Regions from separate parts of the Homo sapiens genome. Here regions 1, 2, 4 and 5 are each linked to region 3. The links are contacts of gene promoters, found by promoter capture Hi-C in human tissues and cell types (Jung and others, 2019). All regions are on one chromosome and are shown on one strand. The core of a region is centred on a gene start or on the middle of the fragment in contact, and the rest is flanking DNA. Distances in the headings are between cores, read along the strand shown.

What was found. The method cuts DNA at HindIII sites, captures the fragments that hold promoters and counts their contacts. A contact is called where the count stands out against the background at its distance.
Region 1: a fragment that was not itself captured here is called in contact with the fragment with the promoter of ZNF141 in region 3 in 3 of the 25 tissues and cell types used here (dorsolateral prefrontal cortex, lymphoblastoid cells and mesenchymal stem cells).
Region 2: a fragment that was not itself captured here is called in contact with the fragment with the promoter of ZNF141 in region 3 in 8 of the 25 tissues and cell types used here (adrenal gland, aorta, dorsolateral prefrontal cortex and 5 more).
Region 4: a contact is called between a fragment that was not itself captured here and the fragment with the promoter of ZNF141 in region 3, in 2 of the 25 tissues and cell types used here (dorsolateral prefrontal cortex and spleen).
Region 5: a contact is called between a fragment that was not itself captured here and the fragment with the promoter of ZNF141 in region 3, in 3 of the 25 tissues and cell types used here (dorsolateral prefrontal cortex, lymphoblastoid cells and spleen).

What each region holds. Positions count from the first base shown.
Region 1 is chr4:455,283-460,687 of GRCh38, forward strand. All of the region lies in intron 2 of ZNF721 (zinc finger protein 721), which reads right to left. It also overlaps the pseudogene ABCA11P. Among named protein-coding and RNA genes, the nearest start is that of ZNF721, 41 kb to the right of the region's middle. The HindIII fragment of the contact is 3,564 bases long and covers 1,305-4,868 here.
Region 2 is chr4:419,678-424,925 of GRCh38, forward strand. No RefSeq gene overlaps it. Among named protein-coding and RNA genes, the nearest start is that of MIR571, 72 kb to the left of the region's middle. The HindIII fragment of the contact is 5,047 bases long and covers 1-4,930 here.
Region 3 is chr4:335,743-340,758 of GRCh38, forward strand. ZNF141 (zinc finger protein 141) reads left to right here and starts at 2,072. Exons shown (of 4, transcript NM_003441.4): 1 at 2,072-2,244. The coding sequence starts at 2,242. RefSeq lists silencers at 782-841, 1,072-1,181 and enhancers at 1,196-1,711, 1,817-2,777, 1,822-1,921. The HindIII fragment of the contact is 20,671 bases long and covers 1-3,984 here.
Region 4 is chr4:399,670-405,014 of GRCh38, forward strand. No RefSeq gene overlaps it. Among named protein-coding and RNA genes, the nearest start is that of MIR571, 52 kb to the left of the region's middle. The HindIII fragment of the contact is 8,017 bases long and covers 1-5,345 here.
Region 5 is chr4:435,053-439,806 of GRCh38, forward strand. It overlaps the pseudogene ABCA11P and the pseudogene LOC100533734. Among named protein-coding and RNA genes, the nearest start is that of ZNF721, 62 kb to the right of the region's middle. The HindIII fragment of the contact is 8,490 bases long and covers 1-4,754 here.

The sequences.
Region 1 (5,405 bases), core at 1,837-4,336, 120 kb after region 3:
TGAGGCCAGTTGTCCTGGCTCACACCTGTAATCCTAGCACTTTGGGAGGCCGAGGCGGGCGGATCAGCTGAGGTCAAGCGATCGAGACCATCCTGGCCAACACGGTGAAACCCTGTCTCTACTAAAAATACAAAATTAGCTGGACATGGTAGTGCACACCTGTGGTCCCAGCTACTTGGGAGGCTGAGGCAGGAGAATCGTTTGAATCTGGGAGGCAGAGGTTGCAGTAAGCCGAGATCGTGCCACTGCGCTCTAGCCTGGCAACAGAGCAAGACTCCATCTCAAAACAACCAACCAACCAACCAAAAACCAAGCCTAAGAACATTATGTGAAGACAGTAAAAAAGAAAAAAAAAGAAAGAAAAAATATTACACCAATGACAATATAAAAATCAGTCAAAATTACAGAAACAGTAAGTAAAATGGTGTTCTTCAAGAGCTGAAGAAAAAGAAAAAAATGGCAGTTTATAGTTCATAGAGTATTAAACTTTACTTTTGTAAGACAAAATGTAGAGATCCATTTCAAAATAATGTAAATGTACTTAACCCCACTAGACTGTACACTTGAAAACCTTTAGGCAATTTTATGTTTTTCATCACAACTAAATATTTACATCTACCTAAAAAGGTTCCATTTTTCAAAAATCACCTTTGAATAACAAGTGTTTCTCTCACAAAACATAATCAAACAATAAATAGGTGGTAATATTCCACTGTTTCTTTGCCTACTCACCTACAAAAGAAAACAGTCATGATCACCAAAAAAATTTTTATTTATTTATTTATTTATTTATTTATTTATTTATTGAGATGGAGTCTCGCCCTGTCACCCAGGCTGGAGTGCAGTGGCACAATGTCGGCTCACTGCAACCTCCGCCTCCCGGGTTCAAGTGATTCTCCTGCCTTAGTCTCCTGAGTAGCTGGGATTACAGGCATGCGCCACCACACCTGGCTAATTTTCTATTTTTAGTGGAGACAGGGTTTCTCCATGTTGGTCAGGCTGGTCTTGAACTCCTGACCTCAGGTGATCCACCCGCCTCAGCCTCCCGAAGTGCTGGGATTACAGGCGTGAGCCACCATGCCCGGCCTATCAAAAAAATAATTTATAAACCAGGTAAGGGCAATATTTATAAAGGCAAACATCACATAGATAACTTTTATAGGCAATAGAAATCTCTGAATTATACATATATTTTAAATTGCTTCGAGTAAAACCTAATGATTTTTATTTGAATGAATTTTATTTGAATTAAACACCACATGGTCATAAAAGGTACAGAGTTGAAAATTACCATACAAATATGAAAATTAAAAATAGGCCAGGCACAGTGGCTTATGCCTGTAATCCCAACACTTTGAGAGGCCAATGTGGGCGGATCATGAGGTCAAGAGATCGAGACCATTCTGGCTAACATGGTGAAACCCTGTCTCTACTAAAAATACAAAAATTAGCTGGGCGTGGTAGCACACGCCTGTAGTACCAGCTACTTGGGAGCCTGAGGCAGAAGAATCACTTGAATCCGGGAGGCGGAGGTTGCAGTGAGCCGAGACTGTGCCACTGCACTCCTGCCTAGCAACAAAGCGAGACTCCATAATTAATAAATTAATAAATTAATAAATAAATGATGGAGGAGAACCTACATGAAAACACTCCCCAGTAAAATAGAGTTGAAAGAATAAAAAATTCTGATCTATAAAACACTGAATATAATATAGATGTATCATAAAAACAATCCTTTAACTACAGTTTTCAACTCTGACTATGTACTTAATGAAGATCTGGCATTTTGAATCCTTACATGCAAAGAAAATGCATCTCAATTAAAAAATGCTCTAATAAGAATGAAGCATTTCAATACAATTATTTATTACACAATGAGTAAATGTGAGCATTTTATTTCAGAAATTTTGAATTTGAAATCAGATAAATTTGACATAGAATGTATCAGAAACTGAAAACACAGTAAGATGGCAGGAGGTTCTCTACCCACAACTTCTACAGTTATAAAAAAGCAGCAGTTATGTCCTGAAAAAAGGAACTTTATGGGAGCTTTGGAATCCATGTCAAGGGTTGTGAACCCAAGACTGAGGAGGGCTGTATTGAAAAGACATGCCCTTGCTTGAGTGGCATGCTTGCCCATCACAGTCCCAGCTACAGAATAAAATGTGTCCAATTTTCATTGTAGACTTAGCTGTAGACCATTTGGTTTTGTTCCTGCTACTAGCACCATCTGTGAAGACACCTAAACCAAGACACCTATGCCTCAGGTGAAAGGCCTTTAGAAGTTGGTTCTATCTGTGATCTCTGAATTAGCCCAAAATCCACCCTTTGCACATATCAGTCATGGTGTGGAAGAAATCCTGCCCAGACACCCACAGAGAGAAACATCCATCTGTGCCCCTGGATGTAGACTTGCCAATATTTATTTATGGTGGATCTTGACGTGGCACTATAACCTGATTCCAAGTCCATGCAACCAAAGTCCGGAAGAATTTTTTCCTAACCTGGGACCTGCCAAAAGACACACCTGTATGTGCCCCTGTAGGCATGCTGACTTTATTCCCACTGTGAATCGTGAAGCAGTCCTATAACCAAGCTCTGGTCTCTGTCACCTAGAGTCTGAAAGAAGTCCTGCCAACCCAGAAATCTGGAGGGAGAAATGCCATGAACCCAAAAACAGACCTGAAGACTTTGGTCTCAGCTGTGTATCCTGAAGCAGCCCTATGAATCAGTTCCACACCCTCTTAGCTGTGATCAAGGGTCAGTACTGCTCATTTAGGAACCTGTCCAATGACTAGGTTAGAGCATTTCCAAATACCTCGCAAGAGCGACACAGCGGGAGCCACACCTGCTCACATTGATTTGTATCAGCACCTTAATCTGCAGATATAACTGGAAGCTTTTTTCCTCAGTGCCAGTCATATTGATCAACATCTTGAAGAAAGTTCAGTCTTCTCAGAAAATAGATAGAATCCACAACTGTCTGATGCCCAGATAACAGGTCTCCCAAGCATGAATTTCACTGCAGACCCAGTAGGACTTATGTGACCTGGATCTGAAACACTTTATTACAATCTCAGTGGAAATCTCATCAGCCCAGAATCCAACAGAAGATATTTACCTCCCCAAACTAGTCTATAATGACTGAAAGAGGTATTTACTCCTTCAGATGCAAGGACATCAAAACAAGGCTTCATGACTTATGAAGGATCAGGCAAACATAACACCACTAAAGGAAACTAAAAATGCTCCAGGAACCACTAACAATAACACACAGATCTAAGCCAGGCGTGGTAGCTCACGCCTGTAATCCCAGCACTTTGGAGGCCAAGGCGGGCATATCACCCAAGGTCAGGAGTTCGAGACCAGCCTGGCCAACATGGCAAGACCCCATCTCTACTAAAAATACAAAAATTAGCAGGGCGTGGTGGCATGTACCTGTAGTCCCAGCCACCCAGGAGGCTAAGGCAGGAAAATCGCTGGAACCCAGGGGGCAGAGGCTGCAGTGAGCTGAGATTGCGCCACTGCACTCCAGCCTGGGTGACAGAGCAAGACTCCGTCTAAAGAAAAAAAAAACAGATCTAAAAAATGCCTAACAGAAAATGTTCAGGGCAGCCAGAGAGAAAGGTCAGGTTACCCACAAAGGGAAGCCCATCAGACTAACAGCAGATCTCTCTGCAGAAACCCTACAAGCCAGAAGAAAGTGGGGGCCAATATTCAACATTCTTAAAGAAAATAATTTTCAACCCAGAATTTCATATCCAGCCAAACCAAGCTTCATAAGCGAAGGAAAAATAAAATCCTTTACAAACAAGCAAATGCTGAGAGATTGTCACCACCAGGCCTGCCTTAGAAGAGCTCTTGAAGGATGGACATATGAAAAAGAAAAACCGGTACCACCCTCTGCAAAAACATACCAAACTGTAAAGACCATCAACACTATGAAGAAACTGCACCAACTAATGGGCAAAATAACCAGCTAGCATCATAATGACAGTATCAAATTTACATGTAACAATATTAATCTTAAATGTAAAACGGCTAAATGCCCCAATTAAAAGACACAGACTGGAAAATTAGAGTCAAGACCCATCAGTGTGCTATATTGAGGAGACCCATCTCATGTGCAAAGACAAACACAGGCTCAAAATAAAGGGAGGGAGGAATATTTACCAAGCAAATGGAAAGCAAAAAAAAAAGCAGCAGTTGCAATCCTAGTCTCTGATAAAACAGACTTTAAACCAACAAAGATAAAAAACAGAAGGGGTCAGGTGCAGTGGCTCACACCTGTAACTCCCAGCACTTTGAGAGGCCGAGGTGGACAGATCACGAGGTCAGGAGATCAAGACCATCCGTGGTTAACATGGTGAAACCCCGTCTCTACTAAAAATACAAAAAATTAGCCGGGCGTGGTGGCGGGCGCCTGTAGTCCCAGCTACTCAGGAGGCTGAGGCAGGAGAATGGCGTGAACCCAGGAGGCAGAGCTTCCAGTGAGCTGAGATTGTGCCACTACACTCCAGCCTGGGCAAGAGAGCAAGACTCCGTCTCAAAAAAAAAAGGTGGGGGAGGGGGCATTACCTAATGGTAAAGGGATGAATGCAACAAGAAGAGATAACTATCCTAAATATATATGCACCCAATACAGGAGCACCCAGATTCATAAAGCAAGTTTTTAGAGACCCACAAAGAGACTTAGACTCTCACACAATAATAATGGGAGACTTTAACACCCCACTGTCAATATTAGATCAATGAGACAGAAAATTAACAAGGATATTCAGGACTTGAACTCACCTCTGGACCAAGCAGACGTAATAGACATCGACAGAACTCTCCACCCCAAATCAATAGAACATACATTATTCTCGGCACCACATCGCACTTAATCTAAAGTTGACCACATAACTGGAAGTAAAACACACTTCAGCAAATGCAGAAGAAAGAAAATTATAACAGTCTCTCAGACAACAGTGCAATCAAATTAGGACTCAGGATTAAGAAACTCAAAACTGCACAACTACATGGAAACTGAACAACTTGCTCCTGAATGACTACTGGGTAAATAACGAAATTAAGGTAGAAATAAATAAGTTCTTTGAAACCAATGAGAACAAAGACACAACCTACTAGAATCTCTGGTACACAGCCAAAGCAGTCTTTGGAGGGAAATCTATACCACTAAATGCCCACAAAAGAAAGCAGAAAAGACCTAAAATTGACACCTTATCATCACAATTAAAAGAACTAGAGAAGCAGGTGCAAACAAATTCAAAAGCTAGCAGAAGACAAGAAATAACTAAGATCAGAGCAGAACTGGAGGAAATAGAGACACGAAAGACCCTTTCAAAAAAAAAAAAAAAAATCAACAAATCCAGGAGGAGGTTTTTTGAAAAGATCAACAAAAT
Region 2 (5,248 bases), core at 1,157-3,656, 84 kb after region 3:
ATTCATTTCTATTAGAGGTCTAATTTTTATTTTATTATACTAACATTGGGATTAGTTATTTTTCAAGTGCTTTGAGGATTAAAGTTTCATTGTTTGAGATCTTTTTTCTTAGTATAAAAATATATTGCTATAAAATTCTTAGAACATCTTTTGTTACATTTCAGTTTTGATATGTCCTGTTTCTATTTTCAGTTTTCTCAAGATAGTTTGTGATTTTTTTTCGTCTTTGACCCATTGGTTTTTCAGAAGCGTGTTGTTTAATATACACATATTTGTAAGTTTTTTACTTTTCCTTATATTGATTTCTAGTTTTATAAAATTGTGATTTAAAACTTTGATATGATTTCAGTCTTTTTAAAAATGAAAAGACTTGTTTGTTTTTGTTGTGGGCCAGATTTATGATGTGTCCTGGAGAATGTTCCATGTATGTTTGAAAAGAATATAAATTATACTGTTGGATGAAATGTTCTACATATGTCTGTTAGGTACAGTTTTATAGTGTTAAGCAAGTACATTGTTTTTTCACTAGCTTTCTGTCTGAATGATGTATTAAGTAGGGCAGTATATTCCCCTATTATATCTGTTTCTCCACTTTTCTTAATATGTGTTAATATATTTATGGGCTCCAGTGTTTGGTACATATATATATTTAATTATTTTTTGACAAATTAGACTCATCATTATATAATAAAGTTCTTTTTTTATGACAAATTTTTTTTCTATAAGTCTATGTAGTCTGATATAAATATAGCCACTTCTACACTGTTTTAGTTATTATTGGCATGGAATATTCTTTTTCATCCTTGTACCATTAAGCTATGTATGTCCTTAAATCTAAAATAAGTCTTTTGTGCACAGCATATTGTTGATTTTTTAAATCTATTCAGACATTCTGTGAATGTTTTCATTTATTTTTTGCTTCAATAACAGAATATCCCAGAGTTGGTAATTTATAAAGAATAGAAGTTTACTTAGCTCAGAATCCTGGATGCCAAGAAGTCCAAGAGCATATCATTCCCATCTGATGAGAATCATACTTCCACATCACAACATGACCAAAGGCTTGAGGATGATGGAAGGTGTACACCAGAGCTCACTTTTATAATAGACCCACTCTCATGATGACTAACCCACTGTGGAAATGATGATACTAATCCTTTCATGAGAGTAGAACTCTCATGATCTAATAACTTATTAAGGGCCTCATTTCTTAATTTTCTCACAATGGTAGTTAAATTTTAACGTGAATTTTGGAGGGGATGCTCACACTATAGCAATGTTTTTATTGAATAACTAAATATATATTTAAAGGAATTACTGATTGATAAGAACTTATTACTTCTATTTGCTTTTCTTTTCTTTTCTATTTTTTTTGACAGAATCTCACTTAGTCGCCCAGGCTGGAGTGCAGTGGCACGATCTTGGCTCATTGCAACCTCTGCCTCCTGAGTTCATGCAATTCGCCTGCGTCAGCCTCCCAAGTAGCTGGGACTACAGGCACCCGCCACCACGCCCAGATAATTTTTGGTATTTTTAGTAGATACGGGGTTTCACCGTGTTAGCCACGATGGTTTTGATCTCCTGACCTCGTGATCTGCCCACCTCAGCCTCCCAAGGTGCTGGGATTACAGGCGTGAGCCACCACACCCAGCCCTATTACTGCTGTTTTCTGTTTTCTGACCATTTCGTTTCTGTTAATTCTTTCATGCTGTCTTCCCTGGTGTTTTCTTGAATTTTTGTTTTGTTTTTGTTGTTTTATGCCTTCTTTTTTTGTATTTACCCACTACAATTTTTTTTTGTAATTTCCAAGAAACTTATGTAAAACATCTCATAGTTATAAAATCAAGCTTCAGATAGCAATTTAACTGTTTGTTTTGTACAGATAGGGTCTTGCGTTGTTACCCAGGCCAGACAGGGTCTTGCTTTGTTACCCAGGTTGTAGTGCAGTGGTGCATTCATAGCTCAGTACAGACTCAACTTCCCCAGGCTCAAGCAATCCTCCTATCTCAGCCTCCCAAGTAGCTGGGACTACAAGTACATGCTGCCATGTCTGGCTAATTTTTTTACTATTTTTTATGGAGACAGGGTTTTGCCATGTTGCTCAGGCTGGTCTTGAACTCCTGGGCCCAAGCAATCCACCTGTCTTGGCCTCCCAAAATGCTAGGATTACAGGCATGAGCCATCAGGCCCAGCTGCTTTTTTTAAAAGAATAAATAGCTTTCTGAGATCTTTAATTTTAATTATGTACTTATTGAAGAGACAGGGTCCTGCTATATCGACCAGACTGGTTTTGAACTCCTGGCCTCAAGCAAAAGTTAGCTTCTATGTATAGAAAAATTAAACAATCTTACTCCCTTCAACATAGTATTTATGTCACACCCTACTTTTTTTTTTTTTTGAGATGGAGTCTTGCTCTGTCACCCAGGCTGGAGTGCAGTGGCGAAATCTCGGCTCACTGCTAGCTCTGCTCCCAGGTTCATGGCATTCTCCTGCCTCAGCCTTCCTACTAGCTGGGACTACAGGCGCCTGCCACTGTAACCAGCTAATTTTTTGTATTTTTAGTAGAGACGGGGGTCACTGTGTTAGCCAGGATGGTCTCGATCTCCTGACCTCATGATCCACCCACCTCGGCCTCCCAAAGTGCTCAGATTACAGGCGTGAGCCACTGCGCCCAGCCTCACACGCTACATCTTTTTATATCGTATACCCATTAACAATTTATTGAAGCTATTTTTAGTAATTTTTTCTTATAGTTTTTATACCATAGTTAAAAGTGATTTTTGACCATAATTACAGGTTTATAGCCTTCTAAATTTGACTATGTATATATGACTTTCAGTAATATTTACTTTATTGTTGTAAGTTAGGATTCCATTACAACTCGAAAAATTCTCATTAGCATTTTTTGTAAGTCAGGTCTAGTGATGAAAAATTTCCTCAACTTTTTTTAAATCTGAGATTTTGATTGATACATCATTTCTAAAGAACAGCTTTGTCAGGTGTATTCTTAGTTGTCAAGGTTTTTTCTTTTTCTCTCTTCATTTGCACTTTAAATATACGGTTTCACTTCCATGTGGCTTGCATGGTTTTTGCTGGGCAATCTGCTGATAACCTTATAGAAGTTCCCTTGTATGTGAAGAATCTCTTTTCTCTTCCTTCTTTTAAGGATCTCTCCTTGTCTTTGAATTTTGGCATAATTACAACGTGTTATGGACAATTTTTGTTAGATTCTTCTTGCTACAGACATTTTGAGCTTTTCAATTTAATGTCTATATTTCTTCCAAGATTGGTAGAAATTTAAGACATTATATCTTTAAACAATTTTTAAAATTTTCTCTCTCATGAACCCCCTAAAATACGTACATTCTTACTGTTTACTATGCAGTATGGGACCCAAATGCTTTATTCACTCTTACATTCTTTTTTAAAATTCTAATCAGAAACTTTCAAATGACTTACTTTTACATCTGCTGTTTTTTTTTTTCCTGTGTAACGAGGTCTCCTGTTAAAGCTTTCTCTTAAATATTTTAGATCTCCTATTGTGTACTTCAGCTCCAGCATATCTATTTGGTTCTCTTTTAATGGGTTCTCTTTATTATAATTGTGATTTTGTTCATACGTTGTTGCAAAAGAATTTAGTAATGTGTGGTCTTTTTGCATCCATTGAGATTCTTTAAGAAAATTATTTTGAATTCTTGGCCATTTTTTAGATCTGTGTCTTACTGTAAGTGGTTACTGGAGCATTTTTAGTTTCCTTTGGTGATGTTATGTTTGCCTGATCCTTCATGATCTGTGATACCTTCTTTTTATGTCCTTGCATCTGAAGGAGTAAATACGTCTTTCAGTCATTATAGATTAGTTTGTGGAGGTAAATATTTTCTCCTATTGGATCTCTGTGCTGATGAGATTGCAGTAAGGTGCACTGGATCTGGATCACAGTGAAGTTCATTCTTGGCAGACCTGTTATTAGGGCATCAGACCATTGTGGATTCTATTTTCTGGGAAGACTGAACTTTCTTCAGGATCTTGATCAGTAAGACTGGTGCTGAGGAAAAAAAGTCTCTGGTTATACAGGCAGATGACAGAGCTGATAAAATCCATGTGAGCAGGTATGGCTTCTGCTGTGTGGCTCTTGCTGGGTTTTTGGAAATCCTCTAACCCAGTCATTGGACAGGTTCCTAGATGAGAAGTACTGACCCTTGGTCACAGCTGAGAGGGTGTGGAACTGATTCATAGGGCTGCTTCAGGATACACAGCTGAGACCAAAGTCTTCAGGTTTGTTTCTGGCTTCATGGCATTTCTCCCTCCAGATTCCTGGGTGGGCAGGACTGCTCCCAGACTTTAGTTGACAGGGACTGGAGGTAGGTTTTGGGACTGGAGCTGGGTTTTAGGACTGCTTCAAGATTCACAGTGGGAATAAAGTCAGCCAGCATGCCTACAGGGGCACATATAGTGTGTTTTTTGGCAGGTCCCAGGTTAGGAAAAACTGCTTCTGGACTTCAGTTTCATGGACTGGGAGCCAGATTATAGTGCCACGTCAAGATCCACCATTAAATAAATATTGGCAAGCCTACATCCAGGGGCACAGATGGACGTTTCTGTCTGTGGGTTCCTGCATGTGCAGGATTTCTTCCACATCATGATAGATGTGTGCAAGGGGCTAATTCGGAGATCACTGAGAGGAGCAACATCTAAAGTCCTTTCACCTGAGACACAGGACATTATGAATCCTCCTTGGTGTCTTGGCAGATGGTGCTAGTGGCATAAACAAAACCAAATGGCCTACAGCTATACTTACAATGAGAATTAATCATATTTTATTTTGTAGCTGGGACTATGATGGGCAAGCATGCCACTCAAGCAAGCTCATGCCTTCTCAATACAGCCCTCCTCAGTCTTAGGTTTACACCCTTTGACATGGATTCCAAAGTTCCCATAAAGGTTCTTTTGCCAGGGCATAACTGCTCCTTTTTTTTTTGAGAGGGAGTCTCACTCTTATCACCCAGGCTGGAGTGCAGTGGCACCATCTCAGCTCACTGCAACCCCCGCCTCCCAGGCTCAAGCAATTCCCCTGCCTCAGCCTCTCGAGTAGCTGGGATTACAGATGCCGCCACCACGCCCAGCTAATTTTTATATTTTTAGTAGGGATGGAGCTTCACCATGTTGGCCAAGCTAGTCTCGAACTCCTGACCTCAGGTGATCCACCTGCCTTGGCCTCCGAAAGTGCTGGGATTACAGGTGTGAGCCA
Region 3 (5,016 bases), core at 822-3,321:
GGATTTGACATCACCTTATTTGCCTACTATAGGGATGAACTAGGTGGTCAAGTGGCCGTATTATTTCACTGTATTAATACAAATACACCTTCCAGCCCTGGGAAGCAGCATACAATTGCCAAGAGACGTTAGAATGCTGCTGGAGGATTCCAGGGTCTCACAGTCTGGATTTTAGAGTCCTGAATTTTAGACTTTTCAAGGACATGTGCTCCTCTGGGGTTCAGGCATAATAGACTATATTTACCGATGGTGACTGTGTGCATGACGCCATAACATGTTACACTATTAACTCACTTAAGGGACTCCATGAGGCAGGTACTGCTATCTTCACTTTACAGAGGACACTGAGCACAGGCAAGTAACTTCCCCATGGTCACACAGCTGGAAATAGCAGAGCAGCTGGGATGTGCACCCAGAGTCTGTGTACTTAGCCACAGTGCAATCCTGCATAACTACAAAACAAACTTATGTGTGTGAGCATCTATCCGCCCAAGCAGACAAGTGTCAAACTACGCGAATGCTGTCCAAGCACTGCGTGAGCATACACTTCTCTGAAAGCGTTCTGCTCATCAACAGGGCCAGCCAGTGACTTTTCTGATCGCTTAATGCACCTATCCAGTCTCTTCACAGGCGGCTCCTGGGGTCTGCCGGGGGTGCTGGCGTCGGGTTGGCCCTGGCGCTGTCCCCAGCCCCCACTCCCCAGGCCCTGCAGCGCCATGAGGTCGGACTCCTGGGCGTGTCCTGGGTTCTGACCCACCCGCGACGCCAGCTGCCCGCGCCCGGAGCGGATGGGCCTGGCCCGGCTCCACCCCGCGGGGCTCCGCGGCTCAACGGGTCGCCCAGGGGCGCGGGCCCGGCTTCGTCCTCGACGGTGTCCGCCCCGGCCCTGGCTAGGCCGACGGCAGCCGGGTCCGGGTGGGGCTCGGGCTCGGGGCGCGCCCCTCCCATCTCTCCAGGGTCCGCGTCCTCGCTGCCGCCAGGTCCCGCCGAGATCCCCGGTGGCCCCGGCTCCAGCGGCTGCAGCGTCGCCATCGCCGGGCAGACCCCGGCCGACCTCAAAGCGACCGCGCGGTGGGGCCGGCGGGGACTGGGGCTGCGCAGCGCGGCCTGGGGTGGGGGCGGCGGGGCCCCCAGGAGCTCCTGGGAACCGAGGGTCCTGGGGCGGTCCCGCCCCGCACAGCTCCGGGTGAGCTTGGGGAGGGAGACACACTCTCAGCCCACCTCGCCCCGCCCGACAGCGCTCCGAGTCCTGAGTCCCCTCACCCCCATTCTACAGACACGAAGGTGAAGCCAAAGACGGGACGCTCACTTCCTGAGAATTTGCTGCCTGCTGCGTGGACACCACCGACCTATTGTTTACAGCGGTCAGGGACCCGCCCCCCAGACCCCCAGGACCGCGCTTCCGGGGGAGGAGGGTGTCCTCAGCAACGGTGACCCGCACCAAAGCCCTCCTCACCGGGGTCACCGCCACAGCCGGTGCGAGGCCCGCAGGGCGCTGGGGATGCGCGACCGACTCCCGTGAACCTGCTCCTCGCGCGTCAGGGAGAGCTGTGCACCCAACTAGGCTCTGTGAGGACGGACTGAGGTCGGCCTGCAGGCTGCGGCCCCGAAGGCAGGATTTGTGGAGAGATGATTCGCGAGCCTTGGAGGAAGGATGGGCTGTGCGTGCGTGGGTGCGTGCGTGTGTGTGTGTGTGTGTCTGTGACTTTTGTATGTTTATGTGAGACTGCGTACGTGCGCGCGTCTGTGTGTGCGCGCGCGCGTATATGTCTGTGTGTGTGCGTGCGTGTATAATTTCTAAATGGACGTCACCTTACACATCACAAGGTTAAAAAATGACCCCTGGGCTGTGCCAGGCCAAGCACGAAGAGAAAGCCCCGCCTGAAACTGCCTGGAGGCCCCCCGGCTGTCACTCTCGCCACATTCCGTGGAGTATGTGGTTGCAACTTCTGTCACTCAAGGTCTGATGGCGGGGAGATTGGAGCCGTATCCAATCAGCGCACTGGAGTGAAAACTGCCCAATCAGGCACGCAGCCAGAGAGGAGGCGGTGGCTTCCGGGATGTGGCGCGGGTCTTTGCGTCTGGCTACTACCAGACCGCGGGTTAGGGGCTTCATCTCTCTGCGTTCTCAGTTGTGGGAGGCCTTGGTGATTCGGCCACAGCTCAGCCTCCGTCGCTCTGTGACCTGCGGGTATTGGATGATTGGTAGCTAAGACTCCCGAATACTTCAGAAGTGGGGAAATGGTGAGTGTGCGGGGCAGGGCGTCCCAAGGCTGAGGAGGTCTCATCGGAGCTGGCGGGAAATGGCGGCGGGACCGAGTCTGCGAACGGAGTCCCCGCTGCCGCCGCTCAGCCCTGGGGCCTCAGTACCCTCCGGTGAGGGACCTGGGCTCCTGTCGGTCCCCGCACAGCGGCTCTGGCCCAGCCTGCAGCCCTCCTTGTGCAGCTCTGCGCCCGCAGCCCCGCACCTTCCCCAGGCTGTGGGGTGAGGAGTAGCTTATCTGGAAGCCGCCCGCGCGGCGTGCGCGATGCCGGCGTGGGAGGAGCTGTGGGAGAAGCTGTGGTCTGGGGATCCCGTCCCTGCTTTACCCTGTTCGGAATGAGATCGAGGCCCCATCAAAACAGAGTTCATGTGAGCAAATGGGGACTCATTAATGGGACAGCGCCGGCCGTGGCTCGTGGTTTGGGGGCTGCCAGCGGGTCTTGAAGGAAAAGCTTTTGTGAGGTGTGTGAGGAAGCGAAGCAAATCACCCGCCCGCTCCAACTTGCCCACCAGTCTCCTTGCCCTGTGCGCCTCCTCCGCGTGGCTGTTCCTGAGTGGCATCTTTTAGAATACGCTAGTGTGGGCGCGCACAGCGCTTCGCTGAGTTCTGTGAGTAGTTCTGTCATATTATTGAACTTGAGGAGGGTGTGGGCCCCTGGTTTGTAGACAGGTGTTCAGAAATGAAGACGGGTGTCCAGAGGCAGGGACTGGCGTCTGCAGGGGGGCAGCTGCGGGAAGAGCGCTGAGCTTGTGGGGTCTGTGCTGACTCCGGGTGGTGTCGTTAGTGAGTTGTTGGACAGCCCGTTGGGGTCGGAGCATTGACTGGTGTTGAGCAAACTCCTCACGTTTCCTGTCAGAAGAAAGACATGGCTGAGCCTGGGCTGGAGGGAGTCGCAGGTGTCCGCGGGAGACCAGCCGGGTTCTGCACATGCACTGTCCTGCTGCGCACTGTTCTGTTCCTCCAGGTCTCCTCCCGGGGAGAGAGGGCGCTGAGAACTTGGAGGAAAGGAGTTCTGAGAAACATCCCTTCCCTGCACCCTGCTGCCAGCCCCCACCCAATGCTAACCCACTCCTGAGCCCGCCCATTGGGCATTCGCACGGCCACACTTGTCCCAGGACAGGGTTCTACCCTCAGGAATTGTGCCCATGGCAGCTTTGCTCCTAGGTTTTTCTCCCAAGAACACACACAGTGCCCAGAAGACTCCTGGTTCATTTTAACCCCAGATCTGTAGCAGGAATCTGTTTTCTTCACCCACCCAGGCTTTTGGACCACCTGATCCTAATCTCCTCTGCCTTTATGGGCTCAGGAATCAGTTAGAGCTTAGCCCTGCCTGGGCCTGAACTTGTAGCACAAACCAGTCCTTTCGTCAATCCTGCCTTGCCCCCACTCAAGGCTCTTGATAGCACCTTTCTTCTGCTCTTTTCTTCCCCACAAATCCTCTTTCCTGTGCACACAGTTTGCTCAAGTGCATCCCTCATGTGCTACAAGAATTCAACGTTAGTGAGTTCAAGACCATGCCTTTAGACCTGCCTGTTGTAGGACCAAATACAAATCAGAAGAGGCTTAATGCTTTCTCTTTAGAATGAGGAAAGAATTTTTACTCTTCTCCCTTAAAGCATTTAGTTTGAAAACTTTTATATTTAAATATTTTCTCTGCTTCTTTGAAATATATATAACTCATTTTAATCTGTTAACTAGGTGATTTGTCTTTTTTGACTCAAAATTGTCTTTAGGACATGGAAACTATTGCTTTGAAATGTGCATAGCAAGAATATATAACCTATTCCGCAATTTCTGTAGCAGAGTAGGAGGCTGCCTTCAGCAGGTACCTGCCTTCACATATCAAATCTACCTCCTGTCCTGAAGCTGTGGGAAGTTTATTTTCCCTTTGAATATTACCAATTAGGAAACCCGGATGACCTCCCAAATTACTAGGTGAAAGTGTAATAAACTATGTATGATACATGGTACTGTCAAGTCTTCTACTTGAGAGCTAATTATGGTGACTTTCTTTGTTTTGGCAGTCTCTTAGTAGACTGCCTGTAATGCACACCACATTTTGTTTAATTCTCTAACAACACATTTTCTTGCTGTTCTATTATTTTGGACAGTATTTTAGGATTGTAGATGATTTTGCTGTTATATTTTCCACACGCTGTCAAGAATTACTAGATGTTATACACAAAGTGCCCACCAGGCTTCGTTTTAGAGAAGAACCTTCTTTCTCAGGATTCCAGTCACAACCCACAGTTGTGCAGCAAAGTGCACGAAGTGCAGCAAAGTGCTCCCCAAAGCTGCAAACAAAATGATCTCTCTATTTGGGATCTACAATCCCTTCTATAGCAGTTTGACTAGATTTCTACAAAAATGACTTTTTAGGATAGCGATCAGTTTTTCCACCTCTTTCAGTGTGCCAATGATCTTCAGATCTGACACTGATTCAGAAATCATGGGGCCCATAAATCCAGCGAGGTTCACACATGTGCATTGATTAAACCTGAGAACTTCCATTCTCTCCCTTCTCCCCTTGCCCAAATGCCCACAAATGTGCTTACCAGCCCTCCAAGTCTTAAATGTGCAGTTCCAAATTCTGAGTTTATGTCCTGGGATTTGAGAGAAGAACAGAACTTTTGTTTGAGAAATACAAGTTCTTTTAATTACGAGACCAAGTGATGTGTTAAAATGAGACCACAGTCCTACCGTTCCCCTCTTTGAACTGTTTGTCTTTTGAAGTTGTTTGCTATTGCCACAA
Region 4 (5,345 bases), core at 1,969-4,468, 65 kb after region 3:
TGTTTATTTCACCTGGGTGCGGGTGGGCTAAGTCTGAAAAAGGAGTCAGCAAAGGGTGGTGGGATTATCATTATTTCTTATAGGTTTGGGATAGGCATACAAAGTACCTTCTTAAGGGTGGTATGGGGGAGAATATTACAAAGTACCTTCTTAAGGGCAGGGGAGAATATATGTATCAGGGTGGGGCAGGAACAAATCACAATGGTGGAATGTCATCATTTAAGGCTATTTTCACTTCTTTTGTGGATCTTCAGTTGCTTCGGGCCATCTGGATGTATACATGCAGGTCACAGGGGATATGATGGCTTAGCTTGGGCTTAGAGACCCGACATTCCTGTCTTCTTATATTAATAAGAAAAGGAAAACAAAATAGTGGTGAAGTGTTGGAGCGGCAAAAAATTTTGGGGGTGGTATGGAAAGATAATGGGTGATGTTTCTCAGGGCTGCTTCGAACGGGATTAGGGGTGGCGTGGGAACCTACAGTGGGAGAGATTCAACCGAAGAAAGATTTTGGGTTAAGGGGTGATATTGTGGGGTAGTTAGAAGGAGCATTTCTTGTATAGAATTATTGGTCATGGCCTGGATGCGGTTTTGTGTGAATTGAGAAACTAAACGAAAGACACAAGGCCGAGTAAAAGGAGGAGAAAAATAGGTATTAAAGGACTAAGAATTGGGAGTACCTAGGACGTCCAATTAGAGAGTGTCCAGGGGGGGTCAACGTTATCGTTTGCTTGGTTGGTGAGTTTTTGGACTCTATCCTTGAGTTTTTTTATGTTGTCATATACCAGGCCAGATTGATTTAGGTAAAAACAACACTCTTCATTTAAAAATATACAAAGTCCTCCTTTTTCAGCAGTGAATAAATTGAGGCCTCAGCAGTTCTGGAGGACAACTGCAGCTAAAGAGTCAACTAGGGCTTGGAGAACAGACAAACTTTGTGATATGTCTGTAATGCTAGCAGAGAAGTCATTAGAGAGGCTGCAGAATGTTGTGACAGAGGTTAAGATGCCTGCTATTCCAGTTCCAAGTGCAATAGTGGAGGCAGAAAGTCTTAGACCCACAAGTAAAGGGATTAGTGGGATGACTCTTTTTTTGTCATGTTGGTGTCATGAGAGGGACAGGCAGTTTTTCGTTCCCATCTGCAAACTGGATTTGGGGGGTAAGGAAGACTAGAGTACATGTGCCTGTCCAGTTGGCAGGTAGGCACATGTAGGTGGAAGAGCCACATAAAAAGAAGAGACCTTGTGTCAGGCAGAACTGGAAATGTAAAGTGAAAAGGTGAGAGGGTGTACTGAAAGAGGAATCCTGCACCTAAAATCCTAGAGATCCAGCAAGGGCAGCAGCCATTAGAGGTTGTAATGGGGATTGATGGTGCAACTGTGTAGAGGGAGGGGTTTGGTTTTCATGGTGTATGAGAAAGCGCATAGTGTCTACAAGTAACCTTTCACTGCTATTCATGGGGCTGGGTATAAACAAGCAAGAGGAGGGGCTAGGAGGAGATTCAGATGAGCAGGGGGAGGGTAGCCAAGGATGGAGTGAGATGCAGGGTAGGTGTCTTCCTAAACAATAGTGACTGCCAATGCTTTTTAGTTTGTAACGATAGAGGGCTTATCAGTAATGCAAAGTTGGAATGCTCCCATCCGTTTGGTAATGTGTGTGGCTGGGTTCTGGAGATAAAGAGTAAAGGAATATTTGGACAGTGGAAGGTTGCCTGCAGGGATTCCAGTAGGCTGTTGTTGGGAGATGCGTAACGGAGCGGCAACAGGGATAATTGTTTGTGAGGTTAGGGGTCCAAATATGGGTGGGGGTGGAATTGACATAAGGAGAAAGGTGCTATAAGTAGATGCGGAGAAGTGTGGCAGACAGCTTGTTGGTGTGAAATGTCTGAGGAGTTCTCACCAAATCTGTCTAGAAAGTAAAGAAGTTCCCCAGGTGCGTAAATATGAGTGCTATCGAAGGAGGTTCGGAGGTGCAGGGAGACGGGAGAGGTAGCCCAATCGGCCTGTAGAGCGGGGTGGCTGTGTAAGAGCAGGAAGAAAGGGAAACACATAGCCAACAATTCTTTGCTAGAGAAGGATTGGAGGCAGTGAGGAGAGAGTGGGTGAAATTGACAGTATGCTGGAGGCAATTTGGGAGAGGTAAAGAGTGGCATAAGAATGGGAATGACAATAAGAGTGAGTATAAAAGTAAAGAATAGAACTTCATCAGGGTGGAAGTATTGGAGGGTGCCCTGTCAGCAAAGATCATCTATCCAGTCCAAGAGGGAGTCAAGAGTGGTGGTTTGGGGATAACACCAGGAGTTATCAGCTGTGAAGTCTTGGCAAAACAATGTAAACTGGCAGTGTAAACAAGAGCAGGTCATTTATGAGTAGTTGAGAATGGTGAATAGGAGTATGACTAGACAGAAGATAGCAGGGATGACAAGTTTTTGGGGTGTAGTCCAAGTAGTGGGGATGACTGCATAAAGCCCTGTTGCAAAGAGTAGGGTAAGGATGGATACACCTAACAGAATGAAGGGATGTATTAGGCTCATAAGGGTTATTATTATTCTTCAGAAATGCGAGTGAGTTTAAGGGAAGTAGGGGAGAGTACTTGTGACTTCCAGGAGGAAGAGGAGATATCAGGCTGGCTGGCTGATGGACACAGCTTTATTCTGGAATGGTGAACCCAATGGGGAGGGTCCTGCAGGTGGACGGCAGTTGGGGTACTATAGATGACTAAGTAGGGTCCAGTCCATTGAGGTGGTAGAGTTTGAGGGGTCAGAATCTTAACAAGAACTGATCGTCCAGCTAGGGTGTCTTTATATCGCTGGGAATCTGGAGTGGGCAAGAGAAGATTAGCAGCCTGGCGAATTTCATGTCTAGCCTGCTGGAGGACTGGAAGATAGTTGTCTAGAGGGCTGGTGTCTGGGACAAGGTTTGGGCCAAGTAAGAATGTGCGTCCATATAAAAATTCAAATGGACTGTGCCCGGTAGCATCTCGAGGACAGTTTCTAATTCTGAGAAGGGCAAGAGGTAAAAGTACTGTCCACTCCTTTTTAAGTTGGAGGCTGAGTTTGGTAAGGTGTGTATTTAAAAGACCATTAGTCCATTTTACCTTTCCTGAAGATTGAGGACGGTAAGGGGTATGAAGTTTCCACTGAATACCAAGAGTCTGAGAAACTGCTTTGGTGATTTGACTAATAAAGGCCTGTTATTGGACTGTATAGAGGTGGGAAGGCCAAACTGAGGAACTGTCTGACAAAAGGGAAGAAATGACCATGGTGGCCTTCTCAGACCCTGTGGGAAAGGCCTCTACCCATCCAGTGAAAGTATCTCCCCAGACCAAGAGGTATTTTAGTTTCCTGACTCGAGGCATGTGAGTAAAGTCAATTTGCCAGTCCTGGGCGGGGGTAAATCCCTGAGCTTGATGTGTAGGGAAGGGAGGGGGCCTGAACAATCCCTGAGGGGTAGTAGAATAGCAGATGGAACACTGAGAACTGATTTCCTTGAGGATAGAGTTCCATGATGGAAAGGAAATGAGAAGTTCCAAGAGGCGGGCTAGCAGCTTGTAACCTACGTGGAAGAGGTTATGAAATGATGATGTGTCCGGAATTGGTGGGTTCTTGGTCTCACTGACTTCAAGAATGAAGCCGCGGACGCTTGCGGTGAGTGTTATAGTTCTTAAAGGCAGCATGTCCGAGTTTGTTCGTTCTGATATTCGGTTGTGTTTGGAGTTTCTTCCTTCTGGTGGGTTCATGGTCTCGGTGGCTTCAGGAGTGAAGCTGCAGACCTTCGCGGTGAGTGTTACAGCTTATAAAGGCAGTGTGGACCCAAAGAGTGAGAAGCAGCAAGATTTATTGCAAAGAGGGAAAGAACAAAACTTCCACAGTGTGGAAGGGGACCCGAGCAGGTTGCCACTGCTGGCTCGGGCAGCCTGCTTTTATTCTCTTATCTGGCCCCACCCACATCCTGCTGATGGTCCATTTTACGGAGAGCTGATTGGTCTGTTTTACAGAGAGTTGATTGGTCCATTTTGACAGAGTGCTGATTGGTGCGTTTACAATCCCTGAGCTAAACACAAAAGTTTTCCATGTCCCCACTAGATTAGCTAGATACAGAAGGTCGATTGATGTATTTACAAACCCTGAGGTAGACACAGAGTGCTGATTGGTGCATTTACAAACCTTGAGCTAGATACAGAGTGCCGATTGGTGTATTTACAATCCCTTAGCTAGACATAAATGTTCTCCAAGTCCCCACCAGACTCAGGAGCCCAGCTGGCTTCACCCAGTGGATCCCGCGCCGGGGCTGCAGGTGGAGCTGCCTGCCAGTCCCACGCCGTGTGTCCGCACTCTTCAGCCCTTGGGTGGTCAATGGGACTGGGCGCTGTGGAGCAGGGGGCGGCACTGATTGGGGAGGCTCGGGCCACGTAGGAGCCCATCGCTGGGGGGGTGGAGGCTCAGGCATGGTGGGCCGCAGGTCCTGAGCCCTGCCCCGCGGGGAGGAAGCTAAGGCCCAGCGAGAAGTCGAGCACAGCAGCTACTGGCCCAGGTGCTAAGCCCCTCACTGCCTGGGGCTGGCGGGGCCAGCCGGCTGCTCTAAGTGCAGGGCCCGCTGAGCCCACGTCCACCCAGAACTCACACTGGCCCGCAAGCCCTGTGCGCAGCCACAGTTCCCGCCCACGCCTCTCCCTCCACACCTCCCAGCAAGCTGAGGGAGTCGGCTCCGGCCTTGGCCAGCCCAGAAAGGGGCTCCCACGGTGTAGCGGCAGGCCGAAGGGCTTCTCAAGTACAGCCAGAGTGGGTGCCAAGGCTGGGGAGGCACCGAGAGCAAGCGAGGGCTGCGAGGGCTGCCAGCACGCTGTCACCTCTCAATGATAGAATAGAATGGGCCTTTGAGGCTGGAAGGAGACATTTTCCTTGGTCCAAGAACCATTTGACTTGTGTGGGAAGAGATTAGATTGATAGGCGGAAGTTTCAGTGGGAGTATAGGTGGGAGTGACCGATGAGGAGAAAAACTGGCCATAAGGGACAGAAGTTGGAATGCTAGCTGCTTCTTTAGCTACCTTATCAGCATAAGCATTGCCCTGAGTGATGTGATCTGATGCCTTTTGATGGCCCTTGCAGTGAATGACTCCAGCTTCCTTTGGAAGGAAAGTGTCTTTGAGAAGAGTTTTTATTAAAGAGGCATTAATGATGTAGGACCCTTGCATAGCGAGGAAACCTCTTTCACCCCATATAACAGCATGTTGGTGCAGGATATGGAAGGCATATTTAGAGTCAGTATAAATATTGACATGTAATTCCTTGGCAAGAGTGAGGGCTCAAGTTAAGGCAAAGAGTTCAGTTTGCTGAGAGATAGTGG
Region 5 (4,754 bases), core at 1,998-4,497, 100 kb after region 3:
GGATAGCCAACAAGGACCCTGGTCAATGTTTGGAACTGACCTCACCTTCTGCATCCATTTTTATTGACTACAGAACTTTACTTCCTGTGTGAAATGCAGGCTTATCTCTGCCTCTCTGGAAACTTGACGAGGACATGCACTCTGGCTTCCTTCACCCCTAAAATTTGCATTGTCCTGGGTGATGATTCTTTGCTGTTACCCTTTACTACCTCAAACCAGATCAACTGTGCAGTTTATCTTTTTTATTTTTTTCCTCAATGAGCTTGGCATCACAAGTGCCACTACAGGAATAGCTGGCATAATTATTGCCTTCTCAACTTACCACAACCTGTCTCTAGAACTGACTCAAAAAACAGAAACCACTGCTCAGACTCTTACAGAGTGACAGCAACAAGTTGATTATCTCGTGGCTGTAGTTCAAAATTGTAGAGGTCTTGCCACACTAGCTGCAGCTCACAAAAGCATTTGCCTTATGCTAGGAGAAAAATGCTGTTTCTGGGTTAACAGATTAGGGAAAGTCCAGGACCATGTTAGAGATTTTATAAACCAAGCCTGTCACCATCAGAAACATGCCACTAAGGGCTAGTTCTCCTGGGGTGCCAACTGGTTCAAATTCTCATCACATCCCTTTTTGGGGGATCCCTAGCTTTTGTCTTCCTTTTTCTCTTTTGTGAGCTTTACTCACTAAATCAAGTAACCAGGTTTGTTTCCTCTCACCTGGAAACTCTCAGACTTCAAATGGTCCTGCAACAGGAGTATCAACCTATTTTCTTCCCTTCTGTACAACTGTGTTTCTCCACATTTCCTCTGGATACTGCAAGTCAAACCTGGGAAAACATGGAGGGAATGTTTTTCTGACAAAGAGCAAGATAATGAGATGCTGATGAGTTATCTTATGTCACCAGGAAGTAGTTACAGAAGACCCACAGTGCACTGTCTCAAAGATTTTTAGAGTCACAATCTATTGAGGGAATGTTCGAGTAGGCAGTTAGACATGAACAGAAAAAAAGAGCCCCAGAGGAAAAAGCCTCATGCTCCAAAGACAACCCAAAACATGTATGCTAAATTTGAGCAGAGAGGAGCAGAAATACCTATGAAGAACACCCTGAAACACCACTTAGGACACCCAGTAATTGCTCATACTGTGATTAAACTGTCAGAATGTAGCTAGCTACATGCTGATAAAAAGGGAAAAAGGGCTAAAGGAAAATTCCTAAGAGATACGTAGGCATAGTAAGTACACATTTGACTGCTATATTATTTTCCTAAGATGGCGGTAATAAGCAGTGCTGCCATTAAGATTCATTGATCACTGGAACTCACACATGTATATCAGCTGACAGTAAGGAAGCATCTCACAGACCTGGGCAGAAACTCGATGAGGATAAAAGAAGAGATTTACCAGGAAGCAGGATACTAAACAAAGGCAGACACTTAAGACAGAGGTGGGAAATTTTTTTTAAGTCTATGATAATAAAAACTGCAACATGTAACTCTCAAGACTGTTTCCAGCTGGGCCAACCTACTCCTCTTTTGGTGTGTTCTTTGTGTCTGGGCTGAATTGTTTCTCTCAAGAAAACAAGAACTAAGGACTTTGCACTTCCTGGTAACATTTTCACTCTCCCCCACCTCTTGACAAACACCATTGTACTTTGTTTTTATGAGCTGACTACTAAAAATATCTCACATAAATGAAATTATAATTTTTTTTTTTGAGACGGAGTCTCGCTGTGTTGCCCAGGCTGGAGTGCAGCAGCGTGATCTTGGCTCACTGCAAGCTCCACCTCCTGGGTTCACGCCATTCTCCTGCCTCAGCCTCCCAAGTAGCTGGGACTACAGGTGCTGTCACCACGCCTGGCTAATTTTTTGTATTTTTAGTAGAGACGGCGTTTCACCATGTTAGCCAGGACGGTCTCGAGTTCGAGACCTTTGCCTCCCAAAGTGCTGAGATTACAGGCGTGAGCCACCGCGCCCAGCCCAATGTTTGTTAATTTTTTATTAAGGATGGGTGTTGAGGCCGGGCACGGTGGCTCATGCCTATAATCCCAGCACTTTGGGAGGTCGAGGTGGGCGGATCATGAGGTCAGGAGATCGAGACCATCCTGGCTAACACAGTGAAACCGCATCTCTACTAAAAACACAAAAAAATTAGCCGGGCGCAGTGGCGGGCACCTGTAGTCCCAGCTACTCGGGAGGCTGAGACAGGAGAATGGCGTGAACTCGCGAGGTGGAGCTTGCAGTGAGCTGAGATCACGCCACTGCACTCCGGCCTGGACGACAGAGCGAGACTCCGTCTCAAAAAAAAAAATGGGTGTTGAAGATAATCATGTATTTTCTGTTTGAAGAGGTTGTTTACCGTAGTAGTTAAGACTTATCTCTAGAGTCAAACTTGCCTGTGTTTTACTACTGGCTCTTCTGTTGTGAGCAAGTCATTTTTCTCTGTGGCTCTGTTCCTTCCTCTGTAAAATAAGGATAATAATAATGTCTATGCATTGAGTTTCTGTGAAAATTAACAGATATACAGGATTATGGTTAGTATTTGGTATATATTATTATGTATATGCTGAATTACATTAATTAATGAACGTTTGAATTCAATAGCTGCCATAATCTGATTTTCCAGAGAAGGTGACGAAGGACTTGGATAAAGTGACTAAAAATGAAAACCGTACCTCATGAACTGCATCCACTAAAACAAAAAAATCATAACAAATTTCCTCAAGATTGTAACATGAATCTCAACAGAAAAGATCACTGCAGATTTTGAATCTTGAATCTACACAGATCATTCTATTTTTCCAACACTTAACATTTACACTCAAAAGATTCAGCTTAAAAAAATAGTTTTGCTATGTCATAGAAAATGATATGTAAAATCCTTCACCTACCATTAAGTCTCTTAAAAATTTCAAGAGGGCCGGGTGTGGTGGCTCCCGCCTGTAATCCCAGCACTTTGGGAGGCAGAGGCAGGCGGATCATGAGGTCAGGAGATCGAGACCATCCTGGCTAACATGGTGAAACCCCATCTCTACTAAAAATACAAAAAATTAGCCAGGCGTGGGAGTGGGCGCCTGTAGTCCCAGCTACTCGGGAGGCTTAGGCAAGGGAATGACGTGAACCCAGGAGGCAGAGGTTGCAGTGAGCTGAGATCGTGCCACTGCAGGTTAGCCTTGGCAACAGAGAAAGATTCTGTCTAAAAAAAAAAAAAAATTTTTTTTCTAAGATATATTTTATCTTAAGAGATATCAAAATTCTGATGAGTTTCTTCATATGGTGCTTACAATATGCAACCCACTTATATTAATGTTTTACCTATTCTAACTTATGTTTAACACACTTTTTGTTAGAATCTCATACAATTTTTCCTTTACCAATACAGAGAAGCAATGCTGACTTAATCCTCTTACCTGTGAACAGTGAATTACTCTCAAGTCATCTGAATGTTGTATTGATAAATTATAAATAATCTCAAACAACCCAGTTAAAAACAATAATATACCACATTAAAAATTCTAAACTTCTCATCTGAACCTTGAAAGTCCATGTGAAATTACACGGCATGAAGAGATCAGCGAGGAAACTGTAGCCAAAACACAAAGGAAAAGAAGACATCACAAAACTAAAGATAATTAGAAAATAAAAACAGAAATCCTCTTTAAATTCAGACTGAGTCAGTTTTGCAGCCTGGGAACACGTCCTCTCCACATGCACAATTAATGACATTTCTTCAACATAGATATTTTTAATCTTTTACTTGGAGCTACGAACTAACTCCAGGAATATTTATGGCTAGTTATGGAGCATCTATTACACACCCAGCACTTTGTGTTTGTTCACTACAATTATTTATCAAAACATCCCCAATACTTATGTCTTCCCAGTACTTGCCTGAACAAACTTATTTAGTTATAAAAAGTGAAAAGAACAATAACTAAAGAAAACAGCTTATATAAGGTTGTCCAATAAAATGAAATGTTCTAATTAAATAAAACATAAATACACACATTGTGAAATTACATCTAAAAAGTATTTTTGGTGCACTAAATTTTATAAAAATGATTCTTATAATTTCTGACAAGCTCACATACTTTATGAAGTGGAAACAAAAAAAATGAGAAATTTATAGCTAGAGCATGAGGACCACATAAAACCAGAATTGATTGGCATGGGGAGATTCTCAACGATGATTCATTAGATTGTACAGTAATTAAATGAAAAGAAGAAAATATAGATTTGATTTCAAAATGTTTTAGATTTCTAGTAAATTACCTATCCACAGTATTAATAGAACCTTCTTTGTTCCAATATTGCTATTTTCTTTGGAAAATAGGTATAAACTCTCATGCAAACACAATTACTTGCTCCATAATTTCCTTGTGCCCAACGTTTATCTTTAGAGCACAAAATTTATATATTTAACTCCAAGTAAATTAAATGTCTGTATGTGTTTGCAGGAGGACATGCCACATGTTCAAAGATATATATGAAACATTTTTTAAAAGTATTCAAGACTCAGGAATGTATGAATGTTTATTACAAACATAAAATGACCTGTAGTTAAAAATAATTAAAGTGTGTAACTGGATTGTGTGTAATACAAAGGATAAATGCTTGAGGTGATAATAACTCATTTACTGTGGTGTGATTATTACATACTGTATGCCTGTATCAAAATAACCCATATATACCATAAATATATACACATACTATGTACTCACAAAACCTTTTGAAAAATTTCAATAAGAATAAAAATG